2 separate regions of the Homo sapiens genome follow, and region 2 is linked to region 1. Evidence: promoter capture Hi-C in 16 types of primary human blood cells and fetal thymus (Javierre and others, 2016). All regions are on one chromosome and are shown on one strand. The core of a region is centred on a gene start or on the middle of the fragment in contact, and the rest is flanking DNA. Distances in the headings are between cores, read along the strand shown. Region 1 holds the start of MSI2 (musashi RNA binding protein 2). Region 2 has its middle 25 kb from the start of CCDC182.

What was found. Contacts are between HindIII fragments. The CHiCAGO score rates a contact against its expected background, and 5 or more counts as called.
Region 2: a fragment that was not itself captured here is called in contact with the fragment with the promoter of MSI2 in region 1 in 9 of 17 cell types (naive CD8 T cells, M1 macrophages, total B cells and 6 more); the score reaches 11.1 in naive CD8 T cells.

The regions. Positions count from the first base shown.
Region 1 is chr17:57,255,273-57,262,112 of GRCh38, reverse strand. MSI2 (musashi RNA binding protein 2) reads right to left here and starts at 5,590. Exons shown (of 14, transcript NM_138962.4): 1 at 5,309-5,590; 2 at 4,975-5,015; 3 at 4,566-4,647; 4 at 3,759-3,843. The coding sequence starts at 5,370. LOC101927510 (a long non-coding RNA gene) reads left to right here and starts at 5,117. Exons shown (of 3, transcript XR_007065860.1): 1 at 5,117-5,171. RefSeq lists enhancers at 1,828-2,351, 3,338-3,427 and a silencer at 5,406-6,035. The HindIII fragment of the contact is 32,545 bases long and covers 2,071-6,840 here.
Region 2 is chr17:57,766,540-57,773,379 of GRCh38, reverse strand. No RefSeq gene overlaps it. Among named protein-coding and RNA genes, the nearest start is that of CCDC182, 25 kb to the right of the region's middle. The HindIII fragment of the contact is 972 bases long and covers 3,897-4,868 here.

The sequences.
Region 1 (6,840 bases), core at 4,341-6,840:
CTTTAAGGAAAAAATATATGATTAATCACCTAATTATTAATCACTCATTTCTCAGGCTTATAATCCAGCTTTTAGTAACTTCTCAGGCAACTCAAAAGTTTCTTAAACTTTGATCTCAACTTTAACCATCCCTCCAACAGATCAGGTAACTAACATAGCTAGCTAGCCTTTCTGAAATGACCCACCATGCATTTCAGTGTGTGATGCTCTTAATAAACCAGATCTCATGTAATTCTTATTTAGGCAAGGGCTTCTTCTTCCAGACACTGAATATTAAATGGTATCTACATCTAATTTGCTATGCGTGGCTGGGAGAAAAGATGGGAGCATCATTATCATTGGGAAAAAAATCATAACCTGAAAATTAAATGTAAGTATTCTCTAGCAGTAGGTAATTGGATGGTATTTCTTCTCCCTGATGATAACTAAACAACACAGGAGGGAAAGGAGCTTCCAAAAATTTTTTAAATCAACAACATCCAAAAACTCCCCACAGACATCCAACACAGTGCTCTGCTTGAGTTAATTAATTCATTTTAGCAAAAGTAAAGTTACCCAGGATTAACCAAAAAGATCATCTGTTCTGTAGCTATACCTCAAAAGATAAAAAATAATTTTTTGAAGTAAAGAAAATGAAGCATGTGAGCTAAATCCACCTGGATTTTAAAAACAACAGGGAGTAAAAATCTATAAGCAACCTAAACCCAAATTAGAAAAGAAATCCCATCATGGGGAGGGCACCAAAAAAAAAAAAAAGTTACTGAATACAAGAAGTAGTCAGAATCTAGTGCAACAAGTAGGGAATTCCCCTACCCCAACCTCAATCCGAGTGGAAAAACATCCTCCAGTCCAAATCACACACTTGCAAAACGCATGATGCTCAATCAGGGTCTAGCTGTACAGCTCAGAACAGTTCTCCTGGAAGCATGTGAATCTAACAGGCTGATGTGAGGGAGGAAAAAAGTGACTGCACAGATAAAAAGAGGAGGAAAGAAATGTGAAAATATTCCCGTTGTCGGTTTTCATTGAATTTCTAAATGTCACAAATCTTTGGGTAAAAATGTAACACAGATAGTATAAACATGCTACCAGTTATTTATTTCCAGGCTTTGGCTTTCATATTAAAATGTTTTCCTTTTAAAAAGTAAATCTGAGCTTTGTTTTCACTTCTGCCATGAGAAGGAGCAGGGGAGAAAAGAGTAATGCTGTGGAGGAAAGTAGGGAGGTGGGGGTGGGGAGTGGGAAGCACGGAGGATAGTTCATTTGTTCCCTGACTTACATCACCTAGGGTCCCAGCCAGAAAGACATATGAGGATTTCCTGCTGTTATTACGGGGGCTTAAAGACCTAATAAAAGTCTGCATTGCATTCCCTACCTTTAAACATCACCTGAGAAATGAGAGATTACTTTTCAAAAACTAAAATAGACAAAAATCTCTGATCTAGAAAACTACCCTTTCATAAAGATTAACATTACTGCATCTACAGGTGTGTCCAGCACTGACTAGCGCTTGTCTACAAGAGAAATACAACAGGTGTGGATTTTCCATTCTGTTGACGTACGTAAGACAGAGGTGTCTTTTTATAAATACTCCCCAGAGGGTGTTTTTTTTAGTTGGCCGGCACACAATTGCAATCAGAAATCACCTTGTTTATGGGGTAACAGGTGTGGGGTATGTTGAGGGAGGTGCCAGGAGCTGGAAGAAGTAAGGTGCAATGAAGAAAGTGAAGTACTAAAGAAAATTTAAATCACAAAACGAAAAAGCCAATTCAGAACTCCTGGATGGTGTGTGGCCGTATCAGAGCATTATATCATGATCGAAGTTCCTCAGTGTGCAAAGTTTACACGCTGAGATCTCTGAAGGAGAGGAAGGGTCAAGTTAAGCATGGCAAATCCCAACCTTTTGCACATCCCTGTCAACTATTTTTTAAAAAACAAACAAAAAAGAAAACTACCAAAAATTAAAACATTAGTTAGTTAGGTACAGCTCTACTTACTGTATCTACAAGTCCTCTAGGAAAAGACTAGGGTACTATTTTGGATGTGAATGGCCGTTACCTAAACAAAGCTTTTAAGGTAACAGTAAACAAGATCCTCGTTTCCATGTCAATAAACCAACCGCTTCTGCCTCCTGCACTGAACGTTGAAACAAAGTCAAAAGCTAGGTTACACTAAATAATAGTGACCAAAACATGTCTATAAACAATCAGAGAGGGAAACTGCAGGCTTTGCACCTGATACAGAGGAATATGACCCACCAGCCACCACAGAAACCAAATACTGTTTCTCCCACCCAGGTAGCAAGAGGGGGTGGATGATAAATTCCCAAATTTGCCTTGAAAAGATTTTCCTCTTTAATTTCACTAGCTTTTTGAAATGGCTAGCCACGAAATCAAGGAGAGAAAAATTTTTCAGACATCTGTTATCATCCTACAAATCATTTCTGAAATTAAATTATCTAAAAGTACAAAAGGCTGGGCTGCATGCAAGCTATGACAAGTCCAGGACAATTAATAAAGCAACTAAGAGTGTAGGTGGGTTTCTTTCTTAGGAGAAGGCACGCATTCCTGATCTCTTTGATCAGAGAAAGAGGGTGAATTTGCAAAATCAATTCAAGTGCACCGAAGGTTGCCAGGTTTCTTTATTTGCTTTCCTTCTCTTCCATTCAATGTTAAAGCCAAAAGGGGCTTGAAAGATCACCTTGGTCCACTTATTTTACAGAAGAGGAAATTGAGACCCAGAGGTAGGGAATGTCTTGCTCACTTTCATAAGAGGCGGATGGAAGTAGAGCCCCATTTCTGGCCTTGTCCCACTACCCCATCACAGAGGAGTGAAGTTCCATGCAACCCAGCACTACAGCCCAATGTCATCTTAAGGCCTCTGTTTGGGGCAGATATATATTAATAAAAACCGTGGGGAAACTCTGGTAGACATAAAGGGAAGGGAGGAGAGGCAGGAAGCCCACACAGGGGCTAAATAAAACACTGCACACTCCCCCTCCCATTAAATGTATTGTTATATACAGACACTCTTTCTTCCCTTCCCCTTCTGACCTCTGCCTGGAGACTCTTCCCCCTTCTACTCTGGATTTTTAAAACTTGTGATGTATAAAAGTACCCATACTCAAATGAAAGGATCTGAGAAAGAAAAGGAAGGAAAAAAAAATCACTTTGAAACCCCCAGGCCTTATCAGCCTTAGATTTCATGCCATCTGGAGTCACCCCAGTGGATGCCCAGCTCAGCTCCGCCAGCGTCCCCTTCCCTTCCCAAAGCACATTCCAAATCCCAAGTGCCCCAAGAGAAACCTGTTGCCTGGACCTGTAATTAGCGCCCTCTCCCCTCCTTCCCACTGCTGTCCCCCTTGGCCACAAAGCAGGCTGTGCCTTCTCAAAGCTGATCCCCACAGCCACAGTTGGTAACGCGTGCTGTGCTTGGCTGACAAAGAAAAGTTGCATTTGCTCTCTGGTGGAGTTTCTCTGCACAGTCCCCAGGCCGGGAAGGCAGACTCTCCAGGAGCCGAACCCTCTCCTCCCCAAGCCTAACCTTGGCAGCCTCTGAAGCTGCAATGGGACAGGCTCTAAAAAGAAAACCCCAAAGCCAGCCACAGCAGCAAACTTTTGAGCCAACTCGCTAGCTCAGTTTAAAACTACCCAGTTCTAGCACAGAAGCAAAAGAAGGCACTGTCCCTTTAAATGGGGCTGTCAATGCCCAGATCGTTCCTGAAAAGGGGCGAACAACAACAACAAAAAGCAACCTACCGTCTTGGAATCTAACTCATGGTGGGGCTGACCTAATACTTTATCTACACTTGCTGGGTCTGCGAACGTGACGAAACCGAAGCCTCTGAAAGGAGACAAAGAGGGAGAAAAACAAACAAGAAAATGTGACACCATTGAAAGCAACCAGGAGTGAGACCTAAGGCTGAATGAGGAGCAAAAGTTGCCCCCCACGCACCCCCACCTCCCACTCCCCTCCTCCAATTCCCCTCCTGCCTACAGCCCTCCACCTCGCAAGAAAAAACATCAAGGTTAACGGGGGAAGTGGAACGGGGGCAGGGAGGGTGGAGGTAACTTGGAAAATGCTGGTGCCTCCACTCTTTGGCCACCTCAGTTTCCTCTCCTCCTCCCCTTCCCTTTCTTAACGCTTTGTTTTATTCCGAAGAAAGCCCGGCACTTAGAAGAGATTTACCACCATCTTTCTAAGAGGGATCTTAAGAGTTTGGGGAGCTGGGAGTGTGGGGGAAACACACATTAAGATCAAAAGAAAAAAAAAAACTATGCGAAAGTAAATGAAGCTGAATGTCATTTTAAACAGAGAAAAAGAAGCGACGGGAAAATGACTTAAAAGCAGAGAGATGGGTATCTCTGTATCCAGAGTTCAGCTCCAATTAACAATAACCTCTGGGGTTACTAGGGGGCGGTGGGGGTGGTATAGAGCGCCGTTCGAGATCAGCCACGCGCCTGAGCCCCATTCTAATCCGCTTAGCTACTTCCGAAGACACCTCCAAAAATAAAACTTAAACTTTGTTCTAAAATAAAGACAAAATCCAGAAGGGAATGGTTTACCTGGAGCGTTTCGTAGTGGGATCTCTCATGACCATACATTCTCTAATTTCTCCAAATTTGCTAAAATAGTCTCTAAGGCTATCTGTAGAGAGAGAAAGAGAGAGATGGGGGGGGGAGAGAAGGTGTGGAAAAAAAAAGCAATGCAAATTTTGATCAAGGACAAAATCCAAAAGTAGTTTTCTGTTGTTATTCTGTTTTGTTTTTGCATTTTTTGCACACGCGGGGGAAATTCGGCAACAGAGGTCGCATAGAGGGCTCAGAAAGGATTTGCTATTTAAAAAAAATAACCTTGCACAGGAGAAGTGGGGAGCCAATGGCGGGGGGGGGGGGGCTCCTACACCGGGATAACAAAGAGCAATAAAGAAGCCAAGAAGGGGGGGACCCAGGCGTCCCCCCCTCCCTCCCTTACCTGGTGAGGTCTGCCAGCTCAGTCCACCGATAAACATTTTACTAGAGGGAGAAAACATAACAGAAGTGAGCACCGATGTCAGATCGGCCATTTTGACGTGTAACTTACAAAAGCTAAAAGGAAAGCGGGGGGGAGCGAGCGAGCGAGAGCCGGGAGGTGGGGTGGGGGAGAAGGTGACGGCGAAATGCAATCCAAAGGTGTGTAACTTCCACGGGGGGGGCGCGCGGGAGAGGCGGGGGGGCGCGGGAGATGCCCGGCTCCGCGCACCGCCGTCCCCGCCGCTGCAAGGAGAGCGAGCCCAAGGCGGCGCGGTGGGCAGCGGCTGGAAACTTACCCGGGGTCGTGCTGGGAGTCGTTGGCGCTGCCCGAGGTGCCTTGGCTCCCATTTGCCTCCATATCTGAGCCCCCCCGCCCCCCCACCCCCAAAAAACCAAGCCCCACAGCGATCGGAGCGGAGCGGCGGCCGGCTCCGAGCCCCGAGATCTCCGCTCCCTCCTCCCCCTCCTCCTCCCCCCCGCCCGGGCTCCTCCGAATCTCTCTGCGAGCGGCGGAGCCGGGGCAGCGGCGAGAGCCGTCACACGTGGGCTCGGCTTAGCTCAGCCCCGCTGCCTCGCACACCCCCCCGTCCCCGCCCCCCCGGCCCATCCCCACCTCTCCCCCTCCTCCTCCCCACCCCCATCTCCTCCTCCTCCTCCCCCTCCTCCCCGGCGCACGTGGGGCGGAGTTCTAGAACGTCGTGTAACCAATGCCGGTGACGTCACGCACCCCCGTGCGGCCCCCGCCTGCCCGCGCGCGCACACTCGGCCCCCCACGGCCGGACCCACAAGGGTGGCGCGCGAACCCCGCGGGCGGAGGGGACCCCGCCTCCGGGCCGGCAGGGCGCAGGGCGAGGGGGAGCGCACCCCGACTTCCCTGGATCACATGGGCTGCGGGGGGCGGGTGGATCGGGGGAGGGGAGGCGCGGGGAGCTTGCTGCGGCTCCTCACCCGGACCTGGGAGAAGACGCCCCCCACCCTCTCTAGTTCGCCCTCTCCATTCAAGTTTGCCGGCCCCTGCCGCCGAGATCCGGGAATGGCACCAGCCGCCCGCCCTCCGCTGTGCCCTGTTTCCAGCCACCGCTCAGAAATTTAGGTCAAGGACGTCGGGAGCAAACCCACACCCTGGCGCTCCTTTGGCGGCCCCCGAGACGCCCCAGGATCGGGGGGCTTCAGGATGGCGGAGACCCTCCTGCACAAACACCAGCCACAAGTTTTATTTTCCTTTTGCGCTGGAAGTTCTCTCTGGCTCTGGCTCCACACCGGCACGTCTTGCGCGGTTCCCCGCCCTTCCCCAGTAGAGGTACCAATCCGTGCCCGGGAAAGGTTATTTTGGAACTTTGAGAAACTGACGCGATTCCAGTGGCGAGAAAGTGCCGAAGAAAGGGTTTCCGCGTTAATCATACAGTGTTTTAAAAATGTAATAAGATAGGTTATAGGAGTCAAGGTCACATGATTGAGGTTCAAAGCAAATGTTTGTATATAACGAGAAGTACTTTTGGGGTGTCTCTGGGATGGATGGGAAGGGTGGTTATTTCAGGAAACCCCTGTGTAATCCGTTCGTTATATATTTTATTTCTCACCCAGCCTTTGTATGCCAGGATAGTAAAGTGCATGATACTGAAATAGCCCAAGACCCCTCACGACCTGCAGAGGTAGCTAGGGTGGCAGAAGGCTTCAGAATCACTCCCACCTTAGCAGCAGTAGTATTGTGCAGCACGGGTTCTGGCATACAGTAGGTGCTTAATAAATGCGGTTTCATACCTTCATGCACTGAAAACTCCAAAAAGACAATGTCTGTAGCCTTCCAAAGGCATCGCATGAAAGTTTC
Region 2 (6,840 bases), core at 3,133-5,632, 510 kb before region 1:
TCAGGTAATAAAATGTCAAGTCCCAGTCTCATATCAAACTCTCATGCAGTTTATAACTTCTCCCCTTGCTGAGCTTGGCCCGTGGGCACAGGCATGTATGCAGTTGCCTCTTCTCTGTTTTCTTCCTCGCGCCCCCTCTCAGTAGTCGGCTTCTGCCACCTGGGCCAGTGTGGGAGGAAGATGGGGGAGAGGCTTAGGGGGCAAGCAAAGTCTTGGTTGACTGGAACAGTTGTAACCTGGTATCCTGAGGGTGTGTTTCTCCTGTGTGTGCTCTTTAGGGTTCTTTGGAGACACCATCTCCCCACTGGCTGAGGATTTTCTTGGACGGTGCTTCCTCCAGCTGACTCCATAAGAGCGCTAATTTACAGCAGTCAGCTCCTCTGTTGTGGTCGCCTCACTTCTCCAGCAGGGAGCACTCACTTCTAGGGGATCCATATCTGACCTATAAGCAGGCATTTTTCTCAGGGGAAGTCCACGTCTGGTCCACGGGAAGCGCACCTGTATCCTCGCACCACCAAACCTAACAAGTGCAGTGCTTCCTGCCCCTGCCCTGCCTCTTGGCTGCCCATCCATGCAGGCCATCCCAGCTGGCCCTCTGTCTTTGATTTTGGAGCATGAGTCAGGTTGCATCCCTGCATCCTTCAAATTCTAGGGGCATAGAGCAAATCCTTTGAGTGGTTCTAAGTGCCCCTGCCTTTGTATTCAACAACTAACTCTCTCCCTCTTTAAAGAAATCTTTACTCTCAATCTCTTCATCCTGATTCATGCATTCACAGCCTTCTCTTAAAACAATCAATGATGTTCGAGTGCTGACTGAACTGGAGACCCTGCCATGCTGGCCCAGCATCCTGCTTTACTCTGCACCCATTATTTTCTACTTTCAGTAGAAATAATGTCTTGTCTCAGTAATACTGAGACAAGAATCCCATTTTAACATCTAGCGCAGTAGTTGTAGTAGGTTTTTTATGGCTCCAGATTCATTTCAATCCAGGATTATGACCCTTTGCAATACAGCTTTGCAACTCCTCCCATCCAGAGGAGACATCTGCTTGTCTACTCCTTGCAATTTCATTGGCTTTGAGACCAGCTTTGTCCACATAGAAAGGGGCAGAAAGCAAAGCTAGGCAACTTCTGAGGCTAGGGCTTATGAGTCATTGCTGCTTCCACCTTTGCTCTCCTCTAGGAACATTGCCCTGAGACAGACATCCATGAAGAAGCCTGGGATGAAAGACCACATGGAGAGAAAGGCCCACCATCATTCTGCACCAACTACCAACGGCGTAAGGGAGGTTGACTTGGATCTCCCACCCCAGTTGACTCTCCAGCTGAAAGCAACTGCCTGAGCCCAAACAAAACCTGCTGAGGAACCTCCCTGCTAGCAAATGGAATCAGGAGAAATAATAAATAGTTCTGTTGTTTTAAGTCACCAACTCACAAACGGAGTATAAGAAATAATCAATGGATGTAGTTTTAAGTCTCTATGTGTTGGGATGGTTTGATATAACAATAGGTAACTGAAACAGTAGAAGATTAGAAAGAGGAAAAATAATCACCCATAATCCCATCACATAAAGATGACTGCTCTTTTTTTTTTTTTTTTTTTTTGAGATGAAGTCCACTCTGCCACCCAGGCTGGAGTGCAGTGGCACAATCTTGGCTCACTGCAACCTCTGCTTCCTGGGTTCAAGTGATTCTCCTGCCTCAGCCTGCAGAGTAGCTGGGACTAAGGCGTGTGCGACCATGCCCGGCTAATTTTTTTTTTTTTGTGTGTGTGTTTTTATTAGAGACGGGTTTTCACTATGTTGGCCAGGCTGGTCTCAAACTCCTGACTTCAGGCGATCCACCTGCCTCAGCCTCCCAAAGTGCTGAGATTACAGGCGTGAACCACCATGCCTGGCCAAAGATGACTGTTCTTAACATCCGTAAGTTTTTCCTTTCGCTCTCTTTTTTTTCTACACATATTTTTCAACATTTTATTCTGAAAATTTTCAAACACATAAAGTGAACATTCCATACCCACTACTTAGATTCTACAATTATCTTATTTTTAGTGCATTTCAAAGCAATGAACATCAGTACCCTTCACCTATAAATACTTTAGCATTCTGGATATGTTTTAAGTAGTTGTAATAATAAAATGCCTAATATGTACTTTTATATCCTGCTTCATTCAATTATTTTGATATTATTAACACGCTTGAATGTTAAACTCTTTGTGAAATTTACTTTTAATGACTGATAATGTACAATGAAGCAGGTATACTGTCTTTTTTTTTTCTATTTCTGATTGTTAGATAGCTATGATTTTTCTACCTTCGTATCTGTTAATATAAGTTATACTTCAAATACCCTCATTTCCAGGTACAGAAAAAAGGCCAGTGGGTTTACATGACTCATCTGATTTGCTCTGGGATAAAAGGCAGTGTGTTAAATCTTGTTAAGTAGAATATTTTCTCTTGCAGGAGAACATGTGTCTTGGCATCAAAGAGAGCTAGTTCCATCACTTTTCAGTTTTGTGACCTTGATCAAACTCCACAGCCTCTTTAATCTTGCTTTTCCTCATCTATGAAATGGGAGTAGTAATTGTAGGTACCTCAGCTAAAGAATCAGAATGAGATAATTCACATAAAACTCCTAGGACACTGCCTGACACATGTCTTCATTATCACCATTAATATTCACATCCACGAAGTTTTAGAAACAAAGGTATTTGCACATACCAATGTATTGTAAGTGGAAGTAAAATTAAACAAAGCTTAATTCACAAACAATGCGAAAGCCAAATGTAATCAAGAAAATTCATGAGCAGTGCACTTTGATAGAACCCAAAACAATGCCTTCCCATTGATATCCAGACAACCAGGGCAGACATTTGACTGGCATGCAAGGGCACAGCTATTCTGGTTGTTTCCATCAGGTGTCCATTCTGGTTGGTCAGTGACTGTGCTTTTCTAGTTGTTACAATTTTTGGGCCCCACCTACCAATAAAACCGAAAGCAGACAGAGAGCTAGCTCTTAGTCCTTGCTAATATTTACTTTGAAGAGGAAAATGATGCCACCTTTGAAGTTCTCCATAGGAGTTGCCTCTGACACTAGGGAGAAGACCTGAGCAAGGCTTATGAGTTGAGTCCCAGAGCCAATGTCAGATCATGTCTAAGGAATCACCTCACCGGCCAAATCTGGCAGTCTGTGTGCAAGAATGAGCATCACAAAAGGGGTCATAGGTAGGGAGACAAGGTGATTGGCAAGTCTGGGAACAGGCTAAGGAGACGGGGTCTCAGTCAACATGGGAGATTGTTTCTGTTGAGCCAAGGATAGAGGTGGATCACATGGGCAGGAAAGCTCCTCTTAAGGGGCCAGGCTGGGAAGGACTGCTGCATGTTGCTTTCCTCATGCCCACTGGACTCTGATGATAAATCTTGACGATCTCATCAAGGTCATGGTCTTCATTATAGTCATGATCATCATTATCATCATGAACAAAGGCATCCTAAAATGAGGGAGAGCAATGAAGTTCTTTGAAGGACTAGGAGACCCCTGGGGGCAATCTTACCACCTGGATTACATTTGGCTATTTCCTTACCCTCTTCTTTCTCTTAAGGAAAGAAACATTCTGGCCCCAATAGCTCTGCTGAATTTTCTCCTTAGAGAGTAGTAGAAAGCCTCTTTCCAATTAGTCCACTAAGATGAGAATTATCTCCCACCACTTCTCCATCCCCTTTGTCCTATAAACAAGGGAGAGAATCAGCACAAGAGCCATGAACTCAAGATGGGATCCATGTACAAGACTAACTCACATTTTGCTCATTGTTAAAAAGGTGGAAATGCTTCCCATCTTTCATTGTATTCTCAAAATTTTTGACAACTTGATCAAGTCTATTACGATTCCCAAAGCTTTGAGGCTTAAGTAGCAAGAAACCCCAAACTTTCCAGAGATATTTACTGCTCTCGATTCAGAACTTTTTCTTGCTTTTGACTCAGATTATTCAGAGAACAGAGTGGGGGTGGGTTAGGAAAGAGAGAGATCAATGTAAGTGTTGAGGCTGATGGCTAATGGCCTTTAGATTGCAAAGATTGGGTAAACAGATTTAGCACACTGATTCAACATATTAATTGTTTGTTAACCTTTGCATAACCTTTAGGAAGCCTCTGAATGTGTGGATTTAAAACCCAAAGTACACTCAAGGTATTCCCACAGCACAACCCACTTTTACAAGGTGTTAAAACTCATTAATTTTCTGTTGAAGCTGGGCAGGAAAGGGGGGTTTGGGGGAACAGAGCATACTAAATAGAGAACTAATCAAGCAAATTAATGTATGCAGAAGGCTCTCTCCCAGGCTTGCAGAAATATCCATTTGTTACCTATATAAACTATAATTACACAAAATGCAAGTGATGGCGAGGTAGAGTGTGATTTAAGGGTTGAGAAAGCAAACATCATAACAATAGCGTAATCCTAATAGCCATCATCCCTCTAATAATGTTGGCCCTTGGCTAACGTCCTCGTTTAGGGATCTCCGAGCATGTTAGCCACATTAATTAATCCTCTCGCTGTATGGCTGTGAGGGTTGCTCAGAGCCATTACCCCCTCACACCTCAGGCGAGAGAGAGGACATCAGAGCTGGGAAGCTGGGAAGAGGTTGTGGAATCCCATTCCCCACCCCACTCTCCTTCCCCTGTGCTCAAGCAAGCTCCAAGCTGAAAGCCAGCTCTAGACTGGCAGGTCATGGCTTTGGTTCTATGATGCTTGAACAAGAAGAATGGATAGCCCATGGTGTCCATTTAGTAACTGAACCATACAAACAAATACTCTTCTGGTAGGGAGAAACCCTTAGAGGCCGTCTGGTCCACCTCAACGTCTGAAAGCTTTAAACTTCCTCCAAAGACCATTGTCTACCCTGTCCTTCAAGTACTGGAGAAACAGATTGCTGATTCTTTGGGTCTCCTGGGCTTCTCTGTTGTGATGCCTGGGACTGATGTTCTCTCTTTCAGTTAAGACCCATGGACTGCAACCCCAGCTGAATTAAGGCTGTAAGTTCTCCCCCAAAGGAAGAGAGTCATTTTAACACTTTACACCGTCTCACACCAGTCTCTCCAAAGCTAATGGCTATAGAATTAGCGATCATCAGATTATTTTTACTGAAGACGGGCCTTTGGAGTCTCCCCCAACTGATCTAGCCCCAGAATATGAGCGAACTTGCTCTGTAAATTGTCTCTGCAATCTTCCCTAATTGGCCATTCATCTTGATGTCAATCCACTTTTTGGAATGAACCGAACAAGGGCTTGGGCCTCTTTTCCTGTGCGGACATGCTGAGCAGTCCCCGAAGTCCCTTCCCTGCAGCGGCGTTCCCTGTCAATCCCTTTCTTTCTTGCCCTGGGGCCCTGTCTCTTCCTTTCTTCTCCTCTGTCCACTACCTTCTCCGATCAGTTGCATAAAACCAAGCTCAGCCACTCTAGCTGTGTGACTTTGAGAATATTTCTCAGCCGCTTTCTGCCTCAGTTTCATCTCCTGCAAAACAAAATGTTTGGACAAGATGACTTCCCAGGTTGTTTCCAGGACACAGAGTAAGAGGTGAGATAATGCTTGCATCCCTGCCCCACCGGCGGTGGGGGGCGCTGTAGAAATGAGAACCCTGCTCTCCCCTGTACAAGGGTGGTAGGAAGAGGTGGGGCTTCTGACCCCTTATACAGTCCTCAAAAGATGCAGCTGCTCTTTAGGCCTCCCGAACCTGGGGTGGGTCAGCCCAGCCAGGCATCTGGCAAACCTCCCCACCCACAGCCTCTCTTTCCCTTCTTTCCATCAAGTGGACCCTCTCCCCTCACACATCTGACCCTCACCACTCTGTGCTTTCTCTGCTGTCTTGGCTTTTGAGCTGCTCAGCCCACACCTAGGTTTTCAGGAGGATGACTTGGACCAACAGAAGTGATGGGAAGACATCAGCTTCTTAAAGTTCTGCCTTACCTCTTGGTTAGAAGCACAAACAAACAGCAACGACAAAAGCCAAAACAAAACACACACACACACACACACACACACACACACACACACACACACGAGAGAGAGAGAGAGAGAGAGAAGAAAAGAGAAAGTAAAAAGAATCCCACCTTTCAAACTTACCAGAAATGTCTTCAACCTAGTCATGGAACAAGCCCTAGAGTGGGAACCCTGAAGCTGGGTTGTAGCTGTGGGGCCCTGGCAGAGCACTAGGCCTCCCTTCTTTCTGTTTCTCAGTGAGATGAGTGGAAAGGCTGCCTCCTGCTCCAGCATCAGATGAGATGTGCAGGGAACTGTGGACTGCCTGTGTGTAGCGGCACAAGTGCACATCGAGCCCTCCACTGTGTGGAGCGCTGTTTCCCCCAACACACCCAGTCACCCTGTGAGGTTGGCAACAGGGTTGGCACCATTAGCTCCTCCATTTTGTAGCTGAGAAACTGAAGCTCAGAGAGTAACTTTCCCTAAGTCACATGCTAGTAAGTGCCTGGCAGAGGTTTGTACCAAGGCTCACTCATGCCTAATCGTGATGAGGTGGTCATCTCCTAAATGTCATTACAGTTTGCATTGCTGTCTCAAGCTTGCACTGTTTGCTTTGGGTTGGGGTAAAGAAAGACTCATGCTGTAGGGTGGTGCCTAGAAACAGGAAGAGCAGCAAACACAGCAGTATCCTTCTTGGCAAAGCTCCCTGGACTCACAGAGCTGGGTCCTCTGGCTGAAGAAGAATCTCCTTGTTAGAGTTTGGGGGCTGCCCCTGCCCAATGAGGTGGCCAGGCCTTCTCTGGGGCTCACACAGCCTCAACCCTCATGGAATTGTTTCTCCTGCCCCACCCCTCCTGAGTTTTTT